Linked DNA regions of Homo sapiens: regions 1, 3, 4 and 5 are each linked to region 2. Evidence: promoter capture Hi-C in 16 types of primary human blood cells and fetal thymus (Javierre and others, 2016). All regions are on one chromosome and are shown on one strand. Each heading gives the region's core, a stretch centred on a gene start or on the middle of the fragment in contact. The rest is flanking DNA. Distances are from core to core; before and after follow the strand shown.

The links. The method cuts DNA at HindIII sites, captures the fragments that hold promoters and counts their contacts. A CHiCAGO score of 5 or more calls a contact.
Region 1: a contact is called between a fragment that was not itself captured here and the fragment with the promoter of GPD2 in region 2, in 2 of 17 cell types (endothelial precursors and monocytes). The highest score is 8.0, in endothelial precursors.
Region 3: a contact is called between a fragment that was not itself captured here and the fragment with the promoter of GPD2 in region 2, in 1 of 17 cell types (endothelial precursors). The highest score is 6.1, in endothelial precursors.
Region 4: a contact is called between a fragment that was not itself captured here and the fragment with the promoter of GPD2 in region 2, in 4 of 17 cell types (M1 macrophages, M0 macrophages, monocytes and 1 more). The highest score is 8.7, in M1 macrophages.
Region 5: a fragment that was not itself captured here is called in contact with the fragment with the promoter of GPD2 in region 2 in 1 of 17 cell types (endothelial precursors); the score reaches 5.1 in endothelial precursors.

The regions. Positions count from the first base shown.
Region 1 is chr2:157,176,615-157,180,742 of GRCh38, reverse strand. No RefSeq gene overlaps it. Among named protein-coding and RNA genes, the nearest start is that of GALNT5, 79 kb to the left of the region's middle. The HindIII fragment of the contact is 1,522 bases long and covers 524-2,045 here.
Region 2 is chr2:156,434,581-156,438,966 of GRCh38, reverse strand. It overlaps GPD2 (glycerol-3-phosphate dehydrogenase 2), which reads right to left and starts at 2,588. Exons shown (of 17, transcript NM_000408.5): 1 at 2,454-2,588. RefSeq lists silencers at 2,467-2,876, 3,317-3,486 and an enhancer at 3,027-3,076. The HindIII fragment of the contact is 5,965 bases long and covers 145-4,386 here.
Region 3 is chr2:157,059,271-157,063,466 of GRCh38, reverse strand. No RefSeq gene overlaps it. Among named protein-coding and RNA genes, the nearest start is that of GALNT5, 200 kb to the left of the region's middle. The HindIII fragment of the contact is 946 bases long and covers 1,466-2,411 here.
Region 4 is chr2:155,686,533-155,690,751 of GRCh38, reverse strand. No RefSeq gene overlaps it. Among named protein-coding and RNA genes, the nearest start is that of LINC01876, 570 kb to the left of the region's middle. The HindIII fragment of the contact is 1,583 bases long and covers 836-2,418 here.
Region 5 is chr2:157,157,724-157,162,193 of GRCh38, reverse strand. No RefSeq gene overlaps it. Among named protein-coding and RNA genes, the nearest start is that of GALNT5, 98 kb to the left of the region's middle. The HindIII fragment of the contact is 1,758 bases long and covers 1,087-2,844 here.

The DNA of each region.
Region 1 (4,128 bases), core at 35-2,534, 740 kb before region 2:
ATAAAAATCTTACTTTTAATATGGCCAATGTAATCACTTTTATATAAAGTGTGAGTAAAAGTTTAGGAAACTTTTATATTGATATTGATCTGTAACATACACACTAAGTTAAAAAGAGTGTGCTTTCTTTACAAACATAGCCTCATGGCAAACCTCCCAGCTTCGTCTTCCAACCAGATGGCCTCCCCTAAGCCCTACCCTACATAGAATTCTCAAGATGAAGCTGGCCCTCCTCAGATCCAAGTCAGAGTATCTATGGTAGGACCAGGAATCAGCTTTTTCCACAAGCTGTGAGGTGAGTCTAGGTAACACTAAGGTCTTAGTATATACAACCTCAGAGCTTCCTATTCTTACATGGATTCTTTACTACTTGTTCTAATTCAAGGCTCTTACAATACTCACTGACTTTGCAGTGGTAGCTGTAAATCTCAGAGTTTTATGATTGCCTGAAGTTGGATGAAAGTTGATTTCATTATCCCTTTTGTGAGACTGAGTGAATGAAGAAGAAATTACACCACAAGCTTGGACAGGGCAATAACAGTGAAACTGCATGTTACTTTGAATGCAGACTTCTTGTTCTGCAAAAACTACAGAACTATTCCTGGAAAAACAAGGCAATAGCTTTTATTTATTTATTTATTTATTTAATCCTGAGATACATATAGGTAGGGCCAACAGGCATATACAGTGCTTTGATGCATATGAGAGAAATAGCTTTCCCCAAGGGGACAGATTTGAAAAAAGTGCCCCCCACTGACAATGCCAATTAGAAAAAGGTGTCTGCATCTTAAGTTGACTCCAGGATGGCTGAGAGAAGTCTGGCCTTCCAGCTACCCTGTTGTCTTCTTGGCTGAAGTCTTACGTGGAGTGCAACAGCTCAACTGCACAATTATATGAGGTAGAATTCCTGATACTGGGAGTCAAAACCTGGTCTCTGGTGATGGGGCAAGAATGAAAGAGAAAAGTGAGCCTTTAAGGGGATATCAGCGGTTTGTGGGGTCCAAAGATGAGCCCTTATCTTTGCTATACAAGAAACATTTTTGTTTTAAAAAGTGCTTTTTGGTAAAATGTGATAAATCTCCACTTGTTTGAATGACAGAGAGTTGTAATTAATACTCTTACTTTTGAGAAAACCATAAAGTCATTTATACAGTACTGATGGTACTGAGGGGAGGGATGGACACGCTCTTATAGTGGAAACAATGAATCTCTTGGCAGCTGGACAAGAGGTTAGAGAGAAAATACTTACTTTTGAGTGGAGAGCTCCTATGGCTACCTACAGATCTCCATCTCTGCTACATACAGGCTACGTGATTCAGGGCAAGTCATGTCACCAATTTAAAATGCACATCTACTTCTTGGGAGTTGTGAAATGCTTTAACTAGTGCTTTATAAATTGAAGAGTGTCAATGGTAGTGATTATTTTGGAAGAATATATTTTATCATAGTAGGGACTTTGAAAATTTTTAATGCCTTTGAAAGCCCATGTGTACATTACACATTTCAAAGAAGCAAATGTAGACCTTTAAGGTCTGAATGTTTGTCTTTTTCTGCATTGACTGCCTTCCTGAGGAACTAATTCAAAAGTATTTGTGCAATACTGTCACAATATAGTAAATGTGGTTAAATGAGGGAAATTGCTTTTTCCCAAGGGGTCAGATTCAAAACAAGTGCCCCCTGCTGGCAACACCAATTAGAAAAAGGTGTCTGCATCTTAAGTTGACTCAAGGATGGCTCAGAGGAGCCTGGCCTTTTAGCTATTCTGGAAGAGGTTATTACAAAGAATAGATATTAAGTTGGTGCAAAAGTGATTGCAGTTTTTGCCATTGAAAATCATGTCAAAAACCACAATTACTTTTGCACAAACCTAATAATTCAACCCTCTGGCAAATTAACATCAAAGATTATGGGAAGAGTAAGCGTTGTTTTTGTTGTTTATTTGTTTGTTTGTTTTTGCTAGATATGATTTTTTTTTTTTTTGGACGGAGTCTTGCTCTGTCACACAGGCTGGAGTGCAGTGGCGCGATCTCGGCTCACTGCAAGCTTCACCTCCTCCCGGGTTCAGTCCATTCTCCTGCCTCAGCCTCCCAAGTAGCTGGGACTACAGGTGCACACCACCATGCCCAGCTAATTTTTGTATTTTTAGTAGAGATGGGGTTTCATCATGTTGGCCAGAATGGTCTCGATCTCTTGACCTCGTGATCCGCCCTCCTCAGCCTCCCAAAGTGCTGGGATTACAGGCGTGAGCCACCGCGTCCGGCTCAGATATGACTCTTAATGGGTCAAAAGGGAGTACGTAAAGAAAAAAAAGAAAAAAATTCAAGAATTTTTTGAATAGGGCATCTGACTGGATGGAATTTTTGTGATTCTCAAAGTTTAGAGTTCATTGGTATATGTTAGAATCATCTGCAGTCTTGTTTGAACTGTCATTCTTGAGCTTTATACCAGAGGTTCTGATTTCTTAGATCAGAGATCTGCCCAGAAATTTTACTTTTAATAAGCACCTGATATAGTCAAACTCCTGGTGAAGGGATCTTCCCACATTAGCCCTTCGAGTAGCTAGGACTATAGGCATGCACCACAATGTCTGGCTAATCTTTTTATTTTTATTAGAGACAGGATCTCACTATGTTGCCCAGGCTGGTCTTGAACTCATGGCCTAAAGTGATACTCCGACCTTGGCCTTCGAAACTGCTGGGATTATAGGCGTGAGTCACTGCACCTGGCCCAAAGCATTTCTTTTAATGACTCAGAGTTGTAGACAGGAAAACATCTTCATGAAATTTGCTCTAGATTTTTTTCATATGCTTTCAAATATGGAAAAAAAAATCTTTGATGTTTGAGTAGCCATTCAATATCTTTGATGCTATAGCTAATTGTTTGCAAGTGATCCTGTAATGCCAAGAACTATTTGAGGCTTTTGAAAATATATACAAAAAGTAGAAATGTGTTATACTTACATGGAAACACACTGACGGTTTACCTAAAGCAAAAAGAACAATTTAGCTTTGAGGTTTCTTCTTACACAGCTTCAACTACTGTGTTATAATCTGGGCTGTAATTAAAATCACCTGAAAACTTTAGTCAACTAATTATCTCTAAGTTCCAGTCTAAACCAACGAAAAATGAACTTCTGGGGGTGCAGATGAAGTAGAGATATTCTTTAAAAGTTGTGCAGATAATTCTGTTCTACCAGGGCTGAGAATCATGATTAAACTAAAAGATAATAATTAATACAATTTCTGGTTTGATTTTTTTTCTTTGGCATGTGATTAAGAAAATTTATCTGGTTTCTGTTCTCAAATACTTTTGGGAGACCGAAAGTATTAATTGCATTTGGAAAATATTTTAAAAGGTGATTTCTCACCTCATGGAACTTACTAATTGACAGAAATAAATATTTTTGCCTCCAAGGACAAGAAGATACAGCCACAATGCTGGCATATTGATTTAAATTGTGGGAAATATTCCTTCGCTGGCTAAGGTTGAAATTAGTAGGATAATTTTGCAGAGGCTGTTTAGGCTCTCTTTAGATACTATGGGCTATATCTGACCACAAGGAAAATAGTAGTAGCTGGGCCATAGCCATGGGATCTGAGTGCTTTGGTTTCCTATAGACAGAGTTAATAGAATGAACCAATATATTGAATAATTTTAAATTCTACAAGTATTTATTAATCATATAGTATATGAACACTACAATCTATCATTTAGAAAGATTTTGACTATAAGTAACTGTATTAGTCTGTTTTCATGCTGCAGATAAAGACATATCCAAAACTCGGTAATTTTTACAGGAAAAATGTTTAATGGACTTACAGTTCCACATGGCTGGGGAGACATCACAATCATGGTGGAAGGCAAGGAGGAGCAAGTCACATCTTACATGGATGGCAGCAGGCAAAGAAAGAGAATGAGAGCCAAGCAAAATGGATTTTCCCTTATCTAACCATCAGATCTCAAGAGACTGATTCATCTACCATGAGAACAGTATAGGGGAAACCACCACCATGATTCAATTATCTCCCACTGGGTCCCTCCCACAACACGTGGGAATTATGGGAGTACAATTCGAGATCTGGGTGGGGACACAGAGCCAAACCATAGCATTCCACCCTGACCCCTCCC
Region 2 (4,386 bases), core at 1,339-3,838:
ACTTGAGCCAATATTAACCTTTTCCTTCATAATCACATCAGTTCTGGCCAACATCCTACCACTGGAAAAATGATTGTACGAGGTCTTATGTTGGTCTCCAATTGTTTTCCATCTATGTTTTACCTTGTTAAACAACTGTAAGCTTCTCAAAAGAGGTTAACTATTTTTTTATTTAGCACTTATTACACAATATAATGCTGCACAAGAATACAGAAAATTTCATTTAAGAAGACTAGTGTTCATATATTTGATTTCTAGTCCTCTTTCTGAAGTGTTGTTTCTGCACTTAGGATAGCCCCATGAGTCCAGGTGTTGACAAACAGAAAGAATCAAGTTTTGGAAAACCTAAACAGAAACATCATCACATTCAAAAACTAAAACTGAGAAATTAGATACTGATCTGAAAATTGCTTCCCTTCTCTAATAACCATAGCTACCACTAACTCGCCTCTCCTCTCCCCATCCCAACACACTCAACTAACCGAAAAAAATGTACGGATAATTCATGCACAACATGCAAGAATTCTTTGCCCAAATTTTCAAGCTAACTACATTCTTTGCCCATATTTTCCTACTTGAGTATAAGAAGGAAAAATATAGGATGGAAGCTAGTCTTTTGAAGTCTACTACTTGCCAGGTACATTGCTAGCAATTTTACACACGTCATAGCATTTATTATCCATATTTTGCCAATGAGACAATTGAGGCTGAGTTTTAAAAGATGACCTAAGGCCAAAGTCTTTGGCTCCCCGCTCCACAACTACCCTCAGCTGGAGTTTGTTCCACAGTTCAGTCGCTCATTGAGAAAACATTTATTGAGGGTGTATTACAAGCTAGTCACCCCTCTAGGCATTGGAGGTCACTCATTGAGAAAACATTTATTGAGGGTGTATTACAAGCTAGTCACCACTCCAGGCATTAGAGTTTTGAAAGTATGCAAGACAGAACAAGCCCTGCTACTCTCATAGAACTTACACGCTAGAGATGAAAGAAAACAACCAAACAGGATAAGTTCAGAGTTATAATAGTTTGCCAACATGAGTTATGCACAATAATCATCAAATCTTTTAAAATATCTACAATGAGATTAAATAGTTACAAAAAAAACTAAAGGGGGTGGTAACACTCACTAACAATTGGTAACACTGTGGCCCTTTTGTCAATTCCTGAACCAAGCCATTGCATCTTTGAATGAATCACAAGGGAGAAAGAAGGAAGCAGAGCTCTAATGCTGTTTAGAATTTCTTTATAAAATAAAGTGACTCTATAAGCTATGAGAATGGACAGTTGCAATGAATCCATTGTTGGTTCTCAAACCCAAAACCCCATATTTACCCATTTATTCATTAAAATATTGCTGTATTATTTCACGAGTTGATTTGTAAAAGTCAAGGGAGTGTTGTAATTTGACATAACGCCCCTGTGAGAAACAGAGGGGGGTTTCAACATCCACATCACAAGGTTCCCCAGACTGCACACGGTCTCCATTGGGCAATGGCATCCAGATGTCATGTGGTAGCCAGCAAGAACTGTAGGACTGGGACTAGAGTGGTCAGTAGCTACGAAGAAGTGCCTGGGCCCAGTGTGACAGCTGCCAGCACCGTCCACACGCCAAAAAGAAACTTCACATCTCTTTAAACTTGGAACACATGCAAAATACTAACAGTTTTGTTTTAGCAATAAAGACTCCCTGTCACTTACTAACTTCCTTCCCTCACCTATTTATACAAGTATAAGTTGACTAGCTGCTATTTCTATAGCTGCCTCCTATGATATTTATAATGTGTTGTGTGTGATTTGGGTTGCCCATGTCACTAACACTTTGCAAGAATTTGTGTTTGTAAATTACTCTGGAACTCTTCTGGGAGTGAATATTCCACTGCACAAGGTGGAAGCCAGACTAGAGACCATCTGCTAAGAGCAGCACTTCATTCACCCAGCTACACCTTCCTGCCAAAGCACTCTTTGCAAATCTATTTTTGCTGGTAGAAGTTACTACATAGGGAGTGGAGGCTGTTTTAAGTTATCAGTGTGCACCTTCCATTTCCTCCTAGGACGGTCACACGCCAGCAGCTGAGTTTCTCAAAGAAGCCTCAGCCCTCCTCCAGACTCGTTCTCACTCTTGCTTCGGAAGGGAGCAACAATCCTTATCAGACTAGCCGCATCTACAAGCTAAAAGTTTGCATGAACTTTCAATGGGGTACCAACCCTCGCCCCAAAAGTCCTGCCACTTTACTATTTTACAAATGCCGCCTCCAAAACATAAACAACGAAACCCTAGAGAAGAGCGAATCCATCTTCTGCTGGTGGGAAGAAATTCTAAATCTTTCCCGTTTCCCGCCACCACCTACCGCCAAGACTGGAGTCCCAGAACACTCGCCCGGGTCAGAAAGGGACCACTCCCCCCCTAGAATACTAGAGGCGGGGGAAGGGGTCTCCCAGGAAGCACACACCTGAGATAGATCCTCACGCGCGAGGGGCCAGCGGGCAGGAGCACCCAGTTCCTCCAGCCAGGGTGGAGTCGGCCTCCCCCCAGAATCAGAGCCTCGGCCCGGGTGCTCCCAGCGAGGCGCGCGGGGCTGTCACTCGAGGCGGGCTGGGCGGGTGTAACTCGAGCGCCGGGCGGGCCGCGCCCCCGCCTTCCCTCTTCCCGACTTCCTCCTCCCGCTCCCGCGCCTGCTCCCTCCCGGAGGCCTGACCAGGGCGGCGAGGCCGCCACCTCCTGCCCGGATACCTCGGGCCCAGGCTCCTCCGGCCCAGCGGGGAAACGCGGAAGTGGGGGCGGGAACCGGGGCCGGGGTTGGCGGGGGTGTGGGAGGGAAAAGCCAACAGCGGGCGGCGAGCGAGGTGGTCTCCGTGGCCCAATGAACGTGACTAGACGGGGACGCGGGTCCTGCCGCCGGGTGGGGTCGCGCAGCGCCACACGCAAGGGCCCTCGCCCCTGGCTGCAGTTCCTGCTTTGTGCCTCGGCGATGCCGGACTCCAGACCTCCGCCCCGCCTTGCCAGCGGGCTGGCGGACTGGAAAGCCTGAGCTAGGCCAGGCTGGGGAAGACGGTGGCGGTGTCCGATTTCCTGTGCCCTCGCCCATGCGGGCCGCCCTGGCCATCTGCCTGCGGGAGAGGAGACACTCGTCCGCCGGCACGCTGGCGGGGCTGGCTTACCTGACGACTTCTCGTTGTCCGCCCTGGGATCTGGCTTCTCCTACTCTGTACCTCCCGGCCGGCAGGCTTCCCTAGGCCTACAGACGTGTCCAGGAGGCGGGCGACCCTGCGACCCCGCCGTCAGAGCCCAGAACCCTCGCCCGGCTCCCCCGGCGGGCTCTGGAGGCGCGCCAGGCCTCCTGGCTCCCCGCCTGAATGTCAGCGCAGGGACCCGCAGGGAAGACCAAGCCCAAGCTCCAGGGGGTGGAATGCTGAGCACAGGTTCCCCAGACCCAGCCTCATACAGGTGGGGGGAGGCGGAGAGCCCCGGCAGCTGAACAGCAGGCTTCCCACTTGCAACCCCCCGCCACCCAAAAAAAAAAAACGACCCTGCCCACTGAGCATGCCCAGCTTACTTGTTGGAACTCCTAGGGCTAGACAAGCCCAAGGGGACCTAAGGAAGGCAAAGTTGGGGCTCAAATGGACCCCACTTCTTTAACAGCTTTGCTCCGAAGACCTCTGGGTGCTGTACTAATAACCTTTCTATCGTGGTATTGGAAAATATCCAGGAGATGGACGGAAATGCCTTTCCAAAAGAAGGAAGAAAATTAGTGTGAACCAAAAAGCAGTGGTATTTTTTTAAATAAAGTATTAAGTCACTCATTTAATGTCCTTAAATACCGCAGAATTCCTGTAGTTGACCCAGAGGAATGCATATATTTATTAAATCCCAAACTCAGTAACTTCAGGGAACCATCCATAGTCCACAGAGGAGCAATGATTCTCACCCTTGGACACATTAAAATTGGGGGGAGGGGGCAGGGAGGGGTGGAATGCCAGATTTCCATCCCCAAGTCCAATGAGTCAGTCTGGACGTGGGATCTGCAAGTCCTTGTATTTTAAAACTGGCTCTAAAAGTGTAGTCACTGGAGCCCGCAGCATCAGCATCACCTGAGAACTTGACAGAAACTGTACTCCAGTGACCTGATTCATAGACTCTGGGGCTGGGGCTGAGCTACCCAGATTTAACAAGCCCTTTGGGTAGTTCTGATGCACATTAAAGTTTGAGAACCACGGTTTAAAAGCTCCCCCAGTTGAATCATGAGCAACCAGAAAAAGGAAATTGTAGTTGAGAAAAGAAAAATAGTTCAGAGCATTTGAGCAATGTGAGGTATGCAAAATTTATCAGGCCCAGAGAGACCTTGAATATGGGACATAAGTTGCACCCCCCACACTCATGCTCAG
Region 3 (4,196 bases), core at 689-3,188, 630 kb before region 2:
TTTTCACTTTGTGGTGAACAAGAGAAGGCATTTTACAGAGAACAGGACACAATTCACTATTTTTAGAGGCATTTACAAATTGTTTTCAAGCCTAATAACTATCATTGTCTTTCCTCTCCACCTGTGATCTCTGTGGGTAGTGCCCAAACTCACATTCTTCATGATTTGTCTGTTTTATTTCCAATTCATATGGACCCAATCACCAGGATAGGGGGCTGAAGGCACTTTCCCTTCTCTCTCATTTTATAAGCTGTTCACAAAATTAGTGAATTTTGGAGCTAGAAGAAATCTTACCATCCATCTAATCTACCCCCCCCCCACCACCCTTAGAGTGAACAAACTGTAAGGAAGAATGAACAGTCATACACCTGTCAGCTGGAGAAAGAACAAAACCTAGAATCCAAGTCTTCAAATTCTTAGTCAGCACTCTTTGACTTCTCCAAACCACATTCCTTGACTGGCTCTTACTACAGAGAAATAGGGAATCCCCACATTGTTCCATTTACATGGCATTACACATCTGGCATAACACATGTGGCATAATTTGGCCATAATGTACTCAATTAAAAAATAACTTGGAAGTTATCTTAATGTGAATTTTTACAATCCTAAGAAAAACAGCTAAGAGTGGTTATTTATACTTTCATATGGAAGGTGTTTTTTTTCTAATTCTAAGAAACGTCCATGGTAGCTTGATGGAGACAGCACTGAATCTATAAATTACTTTGGGCAGTATGGCCATTTTCACAATATTGATTTTTCCTATCCATGAGCATGGAATGTTTTCCCATTTGTTTGTGTCCTCTCTTATTTCCTTGAGCAGTGGTTTGTAGTTCTCCTTGAAGAGGTCCTTCACATCCCTTGTAAGTTGGATTCCTAGGTATTTTATTCTCTTTGTGGCACTTGTGAATGGGAGTTTACTCATGATTTGGCTGTCTGTTTCTCTATTATTGGTGTATAGGAATGCTTGTGATTTTTGCACATTGATTTTGTATCCTGAGACTTTGCTGAAGTTGCTTATCAGCTTAAGGAGATTTTGAGCTGAGAAGATGGGGTTTTCTAAATATATAATCATGTCATCTGCAAACAGAGACAATTTGACTTCCTATTTGAATACACTTTATTTCTTTCTCTTGCCTGATTTCCGTGGCCAGAACTTCCAATACTATGTTGAATAGGAGTGGTGAGAGAGGGCATCCTTGTCTTGTGCCAGTTTTCAGATGGAATGCTTGCAGCTTTTGCCCATTCAGTATGATATTGGCTGTGGGTTTGTCATAAATAGCTCTTATTATTTTTAGATTCGTTCCATCAGTACCTAGTTTATTGAGAGTTTTTAGCACAAAGGGGTGTTGAACTTTATTGGAGGCCTTTCCTGCATCGATTGAGATAATCATGTGGTTTTTGTCAAGGCAACTAAACAGGTGTTTGGGCCACAAGCCTTGCACTCTAGGGAATCCCCAAAGCTTGAGTTGACTTGCTTTTATTTGCATTTTCCTGTGAAGTGGATGCCTTTCTTTGGGGAGCAAATGATTCTGTGATGCCCAGATAGAAAGTTTGAAATGTGTCATAAGGATGCCTTCTTATTATGGCAGGATAAGGAGATAATGTTTACAGGCTTATGTGTCTGGGTATGAACAAGGTTAGAAGAGAAACAGAACTTTCCTATTATTTTGATGATATGACCAACATGGCTTATTTTCTCCCTTACCTAGTTTGTGCTATATAAAACCTTAATTCAATGTATTTCATTAAATTCATCTTTAAATAAAAATGATTAGTATGTTATTTCTCTGATATCTTTGGGCTAATCATATTAATGCCTTTGGTTTAAGAAGTGAAACATTTGAATTACAGTTGCTGGTGGATGGCACCAGCAACCATGTGGTTTTATAATGCAGAATTATGTAATGATAAAACATAGTCTGTTCAAAAGAGTACAAAGTTAAAAAGAAACTTTTATTGAAGGCTTTTAAATTGTATTACATGCATCTCCATTTAGCAGATTAAAAATGAAGGTTTAAAAAAGGTATGCAATTGCTCATTATTGAAAATAAAATGATATTATCAAAGGGGAAAAATAGACGTCTCTCTTACCTTCTGATGCTGTTGTCTTTGTAGTCTTGCAATAATAGGACCACTTGAATCATTGATAACTCAGAATATATGCATAATTAGACTTGAAATCATGTGGATTCTGTTAGAATTGCTTTCCAAATGTGGCATCTCCTCCTCTCCACCTTTACTATGCTCAATTATCATCAACATTAGCCTGAATGATGGCAAGAATCTTCTCACTTGTCTCTCTTTCTCTTCCAGGCAGTCTTGGTGACAATGTTACTTTCTCAAAAATAAGAAAACAAAGCAAAGCAAACTATGCCCATCATTGTCATTCTTCTCCTCAGTGACAAGCTTGTTGCATATGCACTTCTCTGTCTTTATCACATGCCATTCCCCTCGCATTGCCCCCATAAATCTTATCCTCCCCACCCCCACATTCTCACCCCTGTGTAAACACAGTGCTCCCTTTCAGAACTCCCCACACAATTGGTTCCTTCTGCCTGGAATGTCCTGTCAAGTCTCCCTCTCTATCTCAAATTTCATCATTTTGGTCCTAGTTTGAATATCAAGACTGTCCCTCGGTGGTCATTTCCACTCCTGGCAGAGGTAGCCACTCTTTCTCTTTAGATTTTAGGGTTACTTTTCCACATCTCTAAAAAAAACACCTGTCACATTTTGTTTTAATTCTATATTTAATTGTCTACTTCTCTGGCAGACTATTTTTTTGGGGTGAGGGGAATGGAGTCTTGCTCTGTCCCCCAGGCTGGAGTGCAGTGGCGTGATTTCTGCTTACTGCAACCTCCGGCTCCCTGGTTCAAGCGATTCTCATGTCTGGTAGACTCTTTAACAGACGCTTTCAAACTTTTTTAATGCAGCTATCATTAAAATGCATTTTTACATTGTGATCTGGAACACACACACACGTGCTCACATTTACACAGATACAGACTGAAACACAGCTCCGAGAAATAATATATTCCCTTATTATGAGTGGCATGCTTTAATATTTTCTACTCTGATCTGTTTTTGAAAAAAAAAATGGTGGTCACAACCTATTGTATTGATTTCACAGCTCAGTAATGGGCCACTACTATGGGACTGAAACCTCTCTCCTAGATGACAAACAATGGCCTCATTTTTACATCCCCAGTGCCTAGGAGTGGAAGGTACTCAATGTTTGTTAAATAGATGATTGTGCAAAGATAATATTGAAAATGTTTTTTAAACTTTTTTTTCCTCAGCCACAATACATATTACAATATTTCTTCTCCATCTTGAGTTTAACTTTGAGCTATCTCCCTGGGATTTTTTCGACTGCTTAGCAAGAGAGAAAAGAATAAAGTGTATATAGGTCATGTTTGCCGCCTGGAGGCTCTGTTAAAGACAAATCTGATGAGCAGAATGGGTCAAAGTTGTGATCTAAATAACTTTTAAACTTATTTAGTCACTTCATTGGTTATCACCCGCTTCCACGTGCAGCAAAATCAGAAATTGTGAGTATAAGCATTTTCTGTACAAATCATTTTAATTAGTTGATTTTGAACCTTAAGATGGCCCTATTAGAACAAAAATATTTTTTTAAATAAGAAAAAAAATCTTTCTAGCGAGTAGTTAATGCTTATTCTTAGTCCACCTACGTTTTTACATTTAGTTCGTTTCCTGTTTTTAGTTTTTGACTTTCAGTGTTTGACAGACTATAAGTTTTGTATTATAAATTTTATGGGCACAATCCAGACTCTGGGTTCTTAACAGACATTAATAATAACACTAGAAACATTTTTCTTGGTCCAATGGCAACCTTGCCAGTTTGTAACCAGGAATAAATAGAACACTCAGTTCATTCAGTCCATGCGCTCATTATGAAGCATACAGAGAATAAATCAGCCTTTTTCTTGGTGCTGATAGCTGAGTGGAAGTGGAAAGCTTGTGAAAAATCAGTTGTAACTAATTTATGGATTTAACTGTCAATTTATTGTTTTTTTATGATTATTTCTGTAGCATTATCTTTAGATAATAATAAAATGAAATGTGTGACTTTTTGAATTTTAGGTGACAATAAAATTAAGTTTATTAATATCACTTGTTAACATTTAGATTCAGAGATTCTCATGATTCAAGACACTCCCTCAATATCACAC
Region 4 (4,219 bases), core at 378-2,877, 750 kb after region 2:
TATGAGTATGATATTCCTTTGAAGTTAAGAAGATGTATACTAAGTTTTGGGTATTGATACTGAACACCCCTAGGTTTTCAATAATCACTAGCCCTCCTACTCCGGTCTATTATTTTTGGACAGAAGAGAGTTAATGAGGCAATGCAATAATAAAGAAAAGAACATGAAGAGCAAAAAGCTATGTGACATTAAGATCTATTGGGGCACTGCTGAAATTGTTGAGTTTGATTTAAACCTTCAACCTAATTTAAGAAGGAGGCATTCTTCATCATTCTAACCTCAAATCCTGAATATAATTAAAGCTTTATAGGTTAAAGCTTTGATGGAATAATTTCCAGGTTTCTCTTTTCTAGTTCTGCATTTTGAAAAATCTTAATTATTATTCTATTTAGAACTTCAATCACTTAAATTTACAACTTGAGTGACTTTAGTTAAACCAAAAAAGCCTGATGTATTCTGTATCCAAATTTTCTGTTCTATTTTTCTTTAATCTTTTATTACGAACATGTCTAACAACTAAGGTCTTAAATATTCAGCTCCTCTTTGCTCTATGTTGAAAATAAACAGGGAACGCATTAGAGTTGTAGTTATTTTAGAGAGAGGATAAGATCCCTAATGAATTCTGGAAGCTAGGGAAGTTGATTTGTGAGGGATGTGGATATGCGTGAGAGATGTACAGATATAATTCAGTGAGGAAATTTGAATCACGCCTCAAGGCACAGGATGCCTGTGAACCAATCACTACATAAAGACTTTTTTGTTGTCCCATGCTTTGGCCTCTTGGTGAGGTTATTCTTTTGGCAAATGATCTATCTTAATATTACACAAGGAAGCTTTGTGTGAACAGTGCATAATCAGAGTTCTCTTGTCCGACAATAATGTAAGGAAAAAAATGTGTGCAATATCAAACACTACAGAACAGAATAAAAATAGTATTCCTTTGTTACATAAATGTAAAAGTAATAGTGAAAAGCAACGACTTAGAAAGAACACTGAAATTATGAAAACTTGGTGTCTTTGGAAGATTCTTTGTAGGATTTAAACAGGAATTTGGTGCTTTGGAGTATATATTCACATCACCAATGAGAACATTCATAGTATGTGCTAATAAGTATTGTTAACATGTACTAAATGTTTTATATGTGCCATTATTATACTAAGTAACTTTATATTATTTCACATACTTCTAACACCAAATAAAGAGATTGGTATAGTTAACTATTCACGAATCCCAGATAGGGGAATTGAGCCTACAGTTGTAGATCAGAATTTCAACTAAAGTCCATTGATTTTAGATGTGGTCCTTCCAGTCACCATCCAAGATTTCTTCTAAGAGTAATGTGTACTGTGGCTCCTTAGGAACTGCTTAATGCTATGTGATAAGATGCTTTGTTTAGTATTTCATTAAATTAGATCTATGATACTTATATAAGCATTGTATGCTGAAGAAAATCTTGAAACTGTGTTTACCTGTCTTTCATATTTTCAACATTTCAAAATTGTATTTGAATCATAGATCATTATTTTATAGTTCATGGTTCTCTAGGAGATAAATAGAGGTGCTTTAGGGGACCAGTGGCCTTCTAAAATTACATCTTAAACATAGTGTACTTGCAATTTGTTGTATTTTTCTGGAAACTGATAATATTTTATAGCTGCATGTGATCCAAAAAAAGTTTAAGGAACTTTAGTTGGAAGTTTTGAAAATAAATGAAATCTAAAATAACACTTTTACCAAAAAAACTAAAAATCAATATAATCCCCAAAATTTAATAGGAATAATGACAAGGTCATAAATGTATAAAGGCTTAGAAATAATGTCACCAGGAAACAGTGATTTTAAAAATTATTCCTCAGAGATTAGAGTATTAGAGTTATGTGATGTCGACTCACTAAGCAATAGCAAGTCCTATTAAAATTCTGTATTTTGAATTTGTTTATGTCAAATATGACTATATCAAATCCACTTAATATGAATCTATCAAATCTGTTTTAAAATTTGGTATGTAGTGCTTTGGATTACTGTTTTTATTTGGTTTGACTATTATTTTAATTTAAACACAAACTTTATTTGGTAAGTGTGTATGTGTCTTTATGAAAGACTGCCAGTCTATTCCAAAGTGCATAAATTTACATTTCTACCAGAAATGTATGAAAGTTCCAGTTACTATATATTTTGATCAGCAATTGATATTTTCAGTCCTAATTTTAGCTCTTCTAGTGATTTTATAGTAGAATCTCACTGCAGTTTTAATGTGAATTTTCCTGATTGCTAATGACGTTGAACACTGTTTCTTGTATTCATCATTCATTTGTGTACCATCCTTTGTGAAAAATAAAATCATTTTCCCAATTTTAATTGAGTTGTCTTCTTGTAACTGATATGTAAACATGCTTTTTATATTCTGAATATAAGCTTTTCATCAGTTTATGCATTGTGAATATTTTTTCCCAGTTTTTGGCTTCCCTTTCCATTTATTTAAGAGCTGAAAGATTCTTAGATAAATTTTGATAAAGTAAAATGTATCAATATTTTCCTTTTATGGACTCAGCTTTTTGTGGCTTGCCTAGTAAATCATTGCGTAGTCCAAGTGTGCAAAGATTTCCTACTGTGTTCTCTTCTAGAAATTTTATATTTATAATTTTAATTTTTAGGTCTATGTTCTATTTCATGCTAAATTTTGTTTGTTGTGTGAATTAAGAATTGAAGTTCATATGCATATCCAGCTGTTCTAAGGCTATTTGTTGAAAAAACTACTTTTTCTCCATGGAATTGCCTACGTTTTTGTCAAAAGTGTCATAATTGTGGTTTTTTTCTAGACTCTAATTTGTTCCATTGACACATATGTGTGTCTTAACAAAAAACACACTGTTTTGATTACTGTAGCTTTATAGTATAAGTGCTCCAACATTGTTATCTTTCAAAATTGCTTTTGGCTTTTCTAGGTTATTTGCATTTCTATTTAATTTTAGATTCAACTTAATAAATACTACAAAAAAGTCTTCTGGTATTTTAGTTTGGATTGCATTAGATCTAGACATCAATTTAAGGAAAAAAATGATGTTTTAATATTGAGTCACCCAGTTCATGAACCTGATACACTTTTCCATTTATTTAAGTCTTTAATTTCTCTCAACCTGAAAATGTTTAAGAGACAAATAAAAGTGGGTTGTTTCTTCAAACTCTTCATTCCAGTAGAGAGAGTTATTTTTAGTTTACTTCAATATTTGTTTATCCCTGTCTCCAAACTTGGAGGATCTCAAAGAGTCTACCTAAGCTGAAAAAGAGAAGGAGGTCTATTTTGGGGAAGGAGAAATTGGAATCTTCAAAATTACAAAACTGTACTATAAACTTCCACATGTTGCTTCCCCCTACCAGCTCAGCAAGTTGGAACTTTACTCTGAGAGGGTATAGCCAAGATCTTTGCCTCCAGTACCCAGTCAAGGGCTAGGGTTTCTCCCAGGCGTGCCAGGCCACCAGCATTTGTAATCACTCTCCCAAGTTTGATATTGCAGAAGCTCTTTCTTGGCAAGAGCAACAGAGAGGTCCAGGGACTCTTTTGTCCATCCAACTCCTACATATAGGGCAGGAAATCTACTCCAGGAGTGGCGGGCCAAGAATACTGGGCTCTCATTGTCATTGCTGCAGCTTGCTCATAGGGCGATGGGTTCCATCCTGTGAAAGCCAAGATGGGAAGACTAGAGGCTACTACCCACATCCAGTGTTCCACTAGTAGACTGAGTTGTCACTCTTAAAGAAGCAGACTGATGTCGCCACCCCAGATCCAGAGCAAGGATTCAGAGGAGCAGATATAGAGATACCATATAGGAGGCGGCAGGACACAAGAGCAAAGTGTTCCATAACTCTTTCTAAGGAGATTGACTTCCTTTGGGACAGAGTGTGGGAAAGCACAAGCCTAAGGACACTGTCTAAAGCAATGGAGATTTTTGGTGGAAAGCAATTGAGAAGGGGCTGGTAGACTTATGAGAGCAAAATGGACAACAGTAGACCAGTTAGAAATTATTTTTTTAATTATTATTATTTTTTTGAGACTGAATCTCCCTCTATTGCCCAGGCTGGAGTGCAGTGGTGCGATCTCGGCTCACTGCAACCTCCACCTCCCGGGTTCAAGCGATTCTCCTGCCTCAGCCTCCCAAGTAGCTGGGATTACAGGCGCCCACCACACACCCGGCTAATTTATTGTATTTTTAGTAGGGA
Region 5 (4,470 bases), core at 716-3,215, 720 kb before region 2:
AGAAGGCCTATGTCATATGCACTTTCTATACATATCTATTGATTGTCTTCAAATTTAGGCATCAGGACATCCCTGGAGAGTGTTTTCCTTGGAGGGCGTGTGATCAACAACTACTTTTGAGTACTTCTCCTAATATCGTATCCTAAGATATTCCTTTGTATATTGGCATTTTGCCATTTGTAACAGAGTGACAATTATAGTTGAATTGTAAATATTTAAAGTTCTAAAAAACTCAAACTTGTTACCAGAACTGATTTTGTCATATAATAATGTAATTATAAAACAATATTAATAATAATGTAGTATTGGTGTTTTCCTCATACACCCACTCATTTTGAATTCTTATTCCATTGTTAATTCAACTGTTTTATGATAGTGATGTTTTATTTTACATATGCTTAGAAAAGTCTCAAAGCCAATAGGGCAAACCCATGCATTATTGGTATTATAGTAAATATTTACACATTTGCTAATAAATATTTAACACATACTTATAGGCCTTGAACTGACTGTAGATTTATTTGACATTTTCCTCTCTTGTTGTAATTGAAAGATTTAATCAATTTATTTAAATTCATCCATTGAAATTGTACTGAATACTTGCTGGATACTACACACTGCTATAAGAACAGAGAAGATAAAGTTAAACCTCATAGGTCTCGTAGCCAATCTAGGGAGTCATAGCAGTCAACAAGTGGGAGAAGATTCCTGCTGAGCCAGAGAACCAGTTGGGATAGGCACCATCTGTGAGTAAAGCAACCTTTTTTTCACATCTAATTGTATCCCCTAAGTTTTATGTGGCTAGAAATTACTTGAAAATGATCTTGAATTTTGATCTCATCACAGATTAAGACATTCATGTCAATTTATTTGAATTAGGATGAATAATTAAATTGTAGAGATTTGACTGAAACTACCTAGGAAAATATCTAGAGAAAATATCCCTTAGAGGGAAACTGATGGCTGGCCAGAAATTTCAGAGTCAGCAGCAGAGCCTGGGAATTAGAGGAGAAGAACATATGGCTCTTAGGAGACCTTGATGGTTCAAACACTTGCTGGGTAGTATAGTGGTTATGAGTACAAGCTTCAGAGCCAGACTGCCTGGGTTCAAATGGGGCCTCTGCCATTTAGTAGCTGAGTATCCTCTGGTAAGTTATTTCTATGTGAAAAATAGCACCTATATTAGAGAGTTTTCATAAAGATTAAAATGAGTCTGTAGAGTCACTCCTTGGTATCTGGTGGAGATTGTTCCCAGATACCAAAATATTCAGGACCTCCCTCCCTGGATACCAAAAATCCACAGGTGCTCAAGTTGTTTATATAAAATGGCGTAGTATTTGTATATAACCTAAATACATCCTCCTGTATACATTAAATAATCTCTAGATTACTTATAATACCTAATATAATGTAAATGCTGTGTAGTTATTATACTATATTGGTTTTTAAATTTGTATTGCCTTTTATTATCATACTTTTTTACTGTTTAAAATATTTTTTCAAGTATTTTCAACCTACTGTTGGCCAAACCCGTATATGCGGAATGGAGGCAGAGGGCCAACTGTATGTCTAAAGCACTTATACAAGTTTCAGACATGTATTTGGTTTTCAGTAAGTGTAGCTACTATTAATATCCTTAGGATGAAGAACTGCAGGGCTTTTCTAGAGGAGCTGAGCACATTTATATCTATTGTGCATTGCTATTTGCAGATGAGCAGGAAGCCCAGGAGACCCAGTAGGCAGTAAAAATATTATTTGGTGGCTTAGAGATGAGAGGCAGAGGGAAAGCAGGGCTCGTCCTGGAATGCAATGGCATTGATGGTGCAGGAAATAGCCCAAGGAATCTTGGTGGCATGATGGACTGCCCTTAGGCAGTAACGGGCAGTGATCCAAGCAGAACAGGAAGACCATGACATTGAGTGGAGTGACAAGGGAGACTGCTGCTGAAAAGACGTTAAACAAAAAGGCTGTCTGTCTGAGCAGGTTTACAATCAACCTATTGTAGGAGCACCTGTTGGAGAATCTTCCCCATAGACATTTCCAAGGACATTCTAGAGGAGAGTAAGAAGATCTGTAAAGAGAAGGCAGCAGGGGTTTTGTGTTGGGAAAGTAAGAGGTGCTTTCAAAGCAATAGGTTTGCTTCTTATAATGTGACCTTAAGTGTACCTACAATTTGGTGAGAATTGGGGTTCCTTCAGGTTGTATAAACTACATACTATATAATGTGATATCTAAAGGTCAACTGGGAGCTCAGGGAAGGAACACATTTGGCCTGAACATACTGAAAAGGTTGAAGTGACACATGGAAAAACAACTTTGGGAAAAGTTAAAATAAAATATACTAAGGCTGTGGGTAAGGAGGGAGCTTAATTCATTTTCTTTTTTGCATTCTACTTATGTTAATGCCTTAACTTATAATGGTGCCTCATATTTTGGTTGCTGTATAAGGAAATAATGTTCAAGTGGCCTTTGACGTCTCGTTGCTTACAAACTCAGATTATACTGGCAGAGTCTGTCAATTATTTACATTTATTATGCGTAGTTTATACACTTGATTCTTTCATAAGCAGTGAAAAATTGTATGCACACTAAAAACTCACATATTCATTCTTCAGAGAGCATATTTCCAAATGGTTGTAGCACATCAGAGAAAAATGTCACAAATCAACTATGAAGATTATATATGTATATATATGCTGGCCACTATAATGCAGCAAACTATGTACACAGTAATTAAAGGGAACATAAGGATACACATGTGTGTATGTGTGTATTGTTTTTATACGTGGCCCCTACTCCCATGATGTAAAACAGTGCCAAAGGAACTCGTAGTCCTAGTAAGCTTTCATATCTGTGCCTACTTATACAAGCTACATTTCTGAATTCATTAGTTAATAGTACAGATATATAATAAAATACAGTGTTGAAGTCAGATTCAATCAAATTCACTTCACATTTTGCTGCAATAATTGATCATAGTCCCTAAATCAGAAAGAACTCAGATGTCAGATACTTTAACCTTTCTCCCAATGCACAAAACCTTTCAACAGCATTTCTGAGAGACTACATCTAGTATTTGATTGCCACTTCCATGCCATTGATGTTTTGATACCTTTCTCTAGTTTCTGGTTTGCTTCCAGTCCCTTAAATAACATGTACCAGATTGATGTACTTTCTCATCTCTTTTCACTCCTTTTCCCTTAATGTCTTTCCTGCTCTTTCTTCTTTGCCCTTCTTTTGTATAGTTTTCAAATAACAACTATAAATATGACTTTCATCCGTAATTTTATCCTGAATTCTGACGTTCAGTCACAAATTTTCATTATGTAGTCCCATTAGAATTATAACTGAATATGTCTGAGAGTTTGGGTTCTCTATTTTGTTTGATGTCACTACACTACTCTGGGTTTAAAACTCCAGGCATTTCTGCCCTTCTTCTCCCTCATTCTGTATTCCAATTTAGTAGAGAGGGAAAAATGAACTGGAAACTCATAGAACTTAGTATTGGTTTTAGCCTCATAGTTAACTGCTTCCAGAACCATTGAACAATTCATTTAATTGCTTTGAGTTTCAATTTATCTAACAAATGAGCTGATTGGAATACATAATTTCCAAAATCGTTTCCAGCTATGACATTCTTTTCTTATATACCCAAATCCTATCAAGTCTTTTGCATTAATGTTTCTTTGCAACTATCCCCTTTATTTCGACCTTACCTCCACTGACTCTACCTGCATGACTTCACTTAGGCTTTCCTGTCTTCAATGGATTTTCCTCATTTAGTTATTTAACTTACTTTTCCAATAAATTCTTGCCAGAGTAATTTTTCTTAAACATAGCTATGGTGATATCACTTTTTTGTTCACAGCCATGCAATGACTCACTATTTCCTAAGCATAAAATCTAAATCCTGTGGTCTAACTCCAAACTATGGCTTCATCTCTTATGTACATTATGTACAGTTCTAGAGGTAACTTCAACTGCTTGCTCTTCCTATACATATCTCTCAATTTCTAGTCCATGTTCCTTTGCTCAATCTGTTTCCTCTGCTTGGAATTCTTTTTCTTTCCATTTCCATATGCCCACATCATGTTCATTCTTCAAACCTCATATATTTGTTGTGGGAATCAAGTAAGGTACATGGAATGTACTTTGCAGAGTTCCTTCATGTTATGTTCTTAGTAAATGTTGACTTTATAGTTTTTGGTATTTTCTAGGTTAGAGTACTAATTTGCGCACCTTCTGGACTCAGTATTTAGGAGTGAGTTTTAAACAGTATTGTTGGAGTACTTTATTTGAATTTTGTTTATAATTTTACAATTTTAAAAAATTGTGTTTGGAAGTATATGCTGAACAATTTCTGCTTTGGAGAATTTATTTCCAATTTCTTCATGTCCTTGAGAATTGCCACTTTTTAAAGGAGTCCATGTGCATTTTCTCTCTGGAAAATGTGAATTTTAATATACCTTG